Regions from separate parts of the Homo sapiens genome. Here region 2 is linked to region 1. Evidence: promoter capture Hi-C in human tissues and cell types (Jung and others, 2019). All regions are on one chromosome and are shown on one strand. The core of a region is centred on a gene start or on the middle of the fragment in contact, and the rest is flanking DNA. Distances in the headings are between cores, read along the strand shown. Region 1 holds the start of HRK (harakiri, BCL2 interacting protein). Region 2 overlaps FBXW8 (F-box and WD repeat domain containing 8).

What was found. The method cuts DNA at HindIII sites, captures the fragments that hold promoters and counts their contacts. A contact is called where the count stands out against the background at its distance.
Region 2: a fragment that was not itself captured here is called in contact with the fragment with the promoter of HRK in region 1 in 1 of the 25 tissues and cell types used here (spleen).

The regions. Positions count from the first base shown.
Region 1 is chr12:116,879,967-116,882,937 of GRCh38, forward strand. HRK (harakiri, BCL2 interacting protein) reads right to left here and starts at 1,475. Exons shown (of 2, transcript NM_003806.4): 1 at 1,010-1,475. The coding sequence starts at 1,341. The coding sequence ends at 1,066. RefSeq lists silencers at 4-204, 1,083-1,162 and an enhancer at 1,668-2,629. The HindIII fragment of the contact is 18,466 bases long and covers 1-2,971 here.
Region 2 is chr12:116,919,851-116,922,821 of GRCh38, forward strand. All of the region lies in intron 1 of FBXW8 (F-box and WD repeat domain containing 8), which reads left to right. Among named protein-coding and RNA genes, the nearest start is that of FBXW8, 10 kb to the left of the region's middle. The HindIII fragment of the contact is 5,174 bases long and covers 1-2,971 here.

The sequences.
Region 1 (2,971 bases), core at 225-2,724:
CTACTCCAGGATCCAGAGTAGTAAGACGATGCTTACGCTGTGTGCTTCCTCAAAGCGCCTAGCACAGTGCCAGGCGCACAGCTAGGGCACAATGATCCCCCCACCCCAAGAGCCTAGTACCTTCCTCCCACTGATACCAACCACACTAGGTGCTCAGTACCCACTTCCTGTCCTAAGTTCTCAACACATGACCTCCCTAAACAGTGCCCAGCACCCCGAAGGAGCTCAATAAATGTTCCTTCCTTAAGGCTTCCCATTGGAGTTTCCCTGAAAGCCCCCTATTCCAGCCCACTCCGAGGGCGTCTCCTTCCCGTAGCAGCTACAACCGTCTGGGGAGAAGGAAGCCAAACTCCTTAAACAGGACACCTCACTCGAGAAGGAGCGAAGTTGGCAGGGCAGAGGAAAATTGCAAATGCGCGGAGCTTGGGAAGAAAGATTGGGCCAGCCAGAAACCTGGAGGGGGAGGAAGTCTCGAGATGCGCTTGGGGTGCCAGATAATGGGGATCAGAGATTGGAGAAGTGACACTTAGGGACAAGAGGTTGGGAGCAAAGGTGATGGAGACGGGGGCGACTCAGGAACGGCAAGAGGATTGGAACGGGACCGGGGACCTTTCTTGGAAGTGCGATAGATTTTAAGTATTTGGCGTGGCTTACAACTACATTCCCATAGCAAGCACACTTTTTACTTGCATTGTGTGTTTATTTGTGGGGCTGGTGGGGATTATGGAGGCTGAAGTCCTCCGCAAGCCACTGAGCTATAAGTGAGTAGCAAGATGCGCTTAAGGACTCGCAGAGATGGGGGCAGAAACGGTGGACCTTACACTTGGAAGGGAAGACTGGGGACTGGGTAGAAGAGGAGAGGTGGAGATGCTTGCAAGAGAAGAGAACGGAGGAAGAAGGAGAAGGGAAAAGAAGAAAGCCAAACTTGCCACTCTCCCGCTCCCGGGCCAGCCCAGCGTCTCCAGTGCCCAGCTGCCGCGCCCCGGCTCTCGCTCGCTCGCTCGCGTACCTGTTGCTCGCTCCGGCTGGGTCTCGGCTCCGGCCCCACCAAGAAGCCCCGCGTTCCTACAAGTTCCGCCTGCCGAGCAGCCAGGCCGCCAGCGCCGCCACCTGCGCGGCCGCGCACAGCCAAGGCCAGTAGGTGGGGAGCGCGCCGGGCGCCGGCGCCCTCCGGCTCCGCGCGCGGCGCCGCCACATGGTGCGCTGGTGCAGCTCGTCGCCTAGCGCCTTGAGCCGGGCGGCGGTGAGCTGCGCGGCGGACGAGCGCAGCCCCAGGCGACCCGCGCTGCAGGCGCACACGGCCGGGGGGCCGCGGCCGCGGTGCAGGGGGCACGGGCACATGACCGCTGGCCTCGCTCCCGCCCCGCGCTCGGGCCGCCCCTCGCCTCCTCTCCCTCCGGCCTCTGCGCCCGCTGCCGCCGCGCTCCAGCCGCCGGGGGCCTCCCCTGGACACCAAGTTTCTCCTTGTGTTGTGCGTTTGTTGTGCTGACGGCGCTATTATTAATTAAAGTGTCACATGGTGGAGGGGGGCGGGGAGGGGGGTTACATCATCCGGCCCCCGGGGGTTGGGGGGGGGGCTGCAGGCAGAAGAAACCGAGAGGTAACTTTTAACCCTAGCGGCGCCGGCAGCTAGGGAGCGCGAGGTTTGGGAGACGGGGAGCGCGGCGCGGGGCGGCGCGAGAAGGCTCCCCGCAGCGGAGGTCCTGGGCTTTGGGGGTCTCGGGGGACCCCCGCGGAGGCGCGGAGCGCGAGGGAAGGTTGTTCTCCTTCCCCTTTTCCTGAATTCAGCTCGAGTTCCGATTTGGCGAGGGAAAAAGGCTTGTTTGCCGTTTTGGATGAAGCTGATGCTGAATTCGGCTGCATTATTCAAAAATATTCCGAGGCTGTTGTTTTGTTTGGGGGAGGTGGGTGGATTCAAAATCTTATGGAAGGGTCAGATTACACCCAACTTGCCTCGTTTCAGGTCTGACTTGGCACCTGTAGGCTTTCAGCCTGACCCTAACGTGCCCCCAGCGCCTGGCTAGAAACCTGACCCTAAAGTGCCCCCAGCGCCCGGTGGGAGGCTGGATGGGCCCACCTGAGCTCGCGTGGGGCGCGGACGGAGGCATTCTCGCTGCCCGGCACCCGCACCCAAAAGACCCTCGCAAGGGGCTTTCTAAAGGGAAACTTCTTGTCTGCTTTCTTTGTGAACATTATTTTCCTGATGGCGTTACAGTTTTCTGCGATGACCCCGATTTAATGCGCAGTGGAGACCCTAAGGGGTCGGCGAGAGGAGGGGCGCGGGGGACTTTAATTCCCCCTTTTCCAATCCGACAGCCACTCCTGTGCACCTCCAGACTGGAGCGTCTGCAGTTGTCACAAACGGTGAAGGTTCAGATGGGCTGGGCGGCTGTCAGGATTCTGTGGGGGAGAATGAAACCTGTGATCTTAAATCGACTGGGATTCAGACAACTTTGGGATTCAGACCATCGGGATGAGTCCAGAGATGGCTCCAAGTTGGGAGTCTGGAACCTGCTGAGGGAGCTTCCGTTCTTGCCTTCCCACCGCAGAGTATAACCAAGATTCTTCGAGTCTGTGAACTTAGTTTTGGTCTGAATTGATCAGGAGGAGAAATGTCCCTTTTGGCCCACAGCGTGGTGAAATGACAACAAAGTCAGGGCTCAAAGCCCACAACACTGTGTGATTCTGGTGGCCTTTTCCCTCACCCAGCTCCAATTATTCTAGGCTTCATAATGGCCAAGACCTACTGCGCATCTTCTATGTCTGGCACCTGTGGGCTTTGGGCGCCCTTGCCTCTGCTGCCTAAAGGTAAATCTCCCAACAATTCTACATGCAATTACTATAATATTTCAAAGATGAGGAAGCTGAGGCACAGGTAGGTAAGGGTTCTTGCCCTAGCTCACAGAGTAGCTAAGAATGAAACCGTCATCTGAACTAGGGCAGTATGCCGCAGGCTCTAAGCTCTTAACCA
Region 2 (2,971 bases), core at 299-2,798, 40 kb after region 1:
CTCACCATGTCAATATTTAACCTGTCAGATCCTGCATCTGTGTTGCCAACAAGATAGATTTAATGGCTTAACCTTCTTCTGTTTTTAAGTTAAACACAAATAAGTAAGCTCCCTAATGTGAACACTTTTCTTCTGGCTAATATGCAGTGAGACAGCAAACCAAACCAAATGTGTACTCATGAATTGACTTAACTGGAATAACTTCCTTTCCTCTTTCCTGTTCTTTGCCTGCCTTTTAAAGCTCAGCTTGAGTTCTGTCTCCTGTGTTAATTCTTCCGTGATTTCTCCAGCCCAAATTTCTCCCTTTCCCCCAACTAAAAAGTTCTTATCCTCAGTGCTGTTCATTTTTTCATGTTATTCGTGAATTAGCAGGCCTCCACTTACGAACCTTTTGAAATGATGCCTGTGTATACTAGAACAACTTGTGACTTACATGCGGTCTTTGTTGGAACGGTCTGCTGCTTGAAGCAGCTTGGGTTTCATTCATATCCCACAAATATTTATTAAGTGTCTTCTTGGTACCAGCCACTGTTCCAGGCACTGAGAATATAGCATTGAACAAGGCAGAAAAAAGCCTGTGCCCTTGTGTAACTTACATTCTGGGGAAGAGGGAGTTAGACAATGGACAAATAATTGTCAGGTAATAAATAAATGTTCTGGAGAAGAAATAAGCAGACAGGATAGAGTGTATCTGCCAGGGGAGGGGCTGTAATTTTAAATAGTGCTGTCCAACAGGGTCTTTCTGGGAAGGTCACATTTCATGGAGAACCTAAAGGAGGTGAGGAGTGAACATACAGAGATCTGGGGGAGGGGATTCTAGGCCAAGACGGGCAAGTGCAAAGGTTCTGTGGTGACCAGGACCCGCACTTAGTTTAATGCTCTGTTGCCTTGATCATTTGTAATGATCTTAATCATTTGTGACCAACAGGCCCCCCAAATTCTATAGCCAATCCTGATGGTGGGAATGTGCCTGCAGTGTTTGGGACCCTTAATGTGAACATCTTTACTCTTTTCACAAACCCACTGTGGTTTCAAAAACCACACCCACTGTGGTACCCCTCTGGGACCTGAAGCTTCTCCTCTTCCTGTCTTCTCTCCTCGCCATGTCCTAAAGCTCAGATCCCAGTTTAGACTAAAAGGGGGCTCAAAGCAGAGGCCCAGCCCATTTTGCTTCACACCACCCTCCTTCACCACCACACCCAGCCTCCTGGGATTTCCCCCAGCACTTGCATTTCTTTAGATTGGCATCTTCTACCTTCTTTCCTTGCCAGAGTCCCCAGGAGAGTGAGAATATGTCTTGAAGCTGGAAAGCCTATTCTCGTAAAAAAAGGATAAATCAAATTCCATGGACATTTATTGTGCATCTACTGTGTGCAATGCACTGAGCTGGTTAGATTCTATAGTATTATAGTTCACTTATATCACCCGCACATGTGATCAACAAACATTTATTGAATACCTTTTGCTCTTCCTCATAGCTAGGCATGGGGATTAGGTTAAATGTTAAGAGACGAATTGTTTTTTTGTGGACTGCTTGGGAGCTTAGCCGCTCTTTGTAGCATTGTTTGTTTGGAGAAATGTTTTCCAGCTTCTATATGGCTGGCTTACTAATGAACTTTGGAGTACCTTAGGGGACGATCTATATTGCCTGTTGTAGTCTCCTGTATTTCATTTTACGTGACAATGACTTACCTCTATAAAAGATTTTAGCTCTTTGAGTGTAGACCATTTCTTATATACTTGCTAACAGCACCTCCCTCCCCCTAGCACCTGGTGTGGCCCTGAATTTAGATAGTATTTTGAACATAAGTTACCTTACTTTAAAAATGTGTTGCTTTTCTGTGTCTGTGAAAATATCATGTGCTCACTGTAGAAATATTTAGGAAATTCAGAAGAATAGAAGAAAATAAAAGTCTTTAGTAATATAATTGCTTAGAGGCTACCATTGTTAACATTTTGGTGTATTTCTGACTTTTTTTTTTTTTTTTTTTTTTTTAGACAGGCTCTCTCTCGCTTTTGCCTAGGCTGGAGTGCAGTGGTGTGATCATGGCTCTGTAGCCTTGACCTCCCATACTCAAGCTATCCTCCCACCTCAGCCTCCTAAGTAGCTGGAACTACAGGTGCATGCCACCACACCTGGCTCATTTATTTTTATTTTGTCTAGAGACAGTGTCTCACTATGTTACCTGGGCTGGTCTTGAACTCCTGGCCCCTAATGATCTGTCTATCTCAATCACCCAAAGTGTTGGGATTACAGATATGAGCCACTGTGCCTGGCCTATTTCTGACTTTTTTTCTTTTTGTATATAAGAATATATATTTCGAGACAAATTGTGGATTATAAATGGATGCTTATTTATCTCGACTGCCTTTCAGACCTTTTTCCCCCAGCCAACCAGTTTTTTTCTTCTCAAAGAAGACACAGGTGAAACTGAAACTCATCTATTTCTTCTGATTGAGATTGTGTGGGTCTACTCCACTCAGCTTTTGCAGTACATGGAAAGTTGAGATAAACGCCTAAAGAAACTAGTTTCAGTCATAGATTTAGTAAAAATGTTATTGCAAATCTCTTCTTTGAACTCAAGGTGCTTTTCTCAGTTTCTTAAACCACCACCCAGAGAGATCTTTCATGTCCTCTTTGCCCTGGAGATGTACATTGGGAACAAAAACCTTAAGTCAGTTTCTTCACTTTTTACTGCTTTGGCTCTTAGTAATTATCTGTTCTTCTATTAAACAAGAGAAGACAGATTAAATTTCTAACAGTAAGGCACAAAACCAATCCATTTACAGAATTAGTCTTACATTAGCACATAGGAATACAAATCAGCCTCCCTGGGGATGGATCTCTTTGCAATTTCTCTCAGTGTTTTTGGAGTAAGTCCAGTAGACTTTGGGAAAATCTAGTATTCACTGACTTTAAATTAAATAAGTAATATGACCCCTTTGAGTGTGTGTGTGTGTGTTTTTTTTC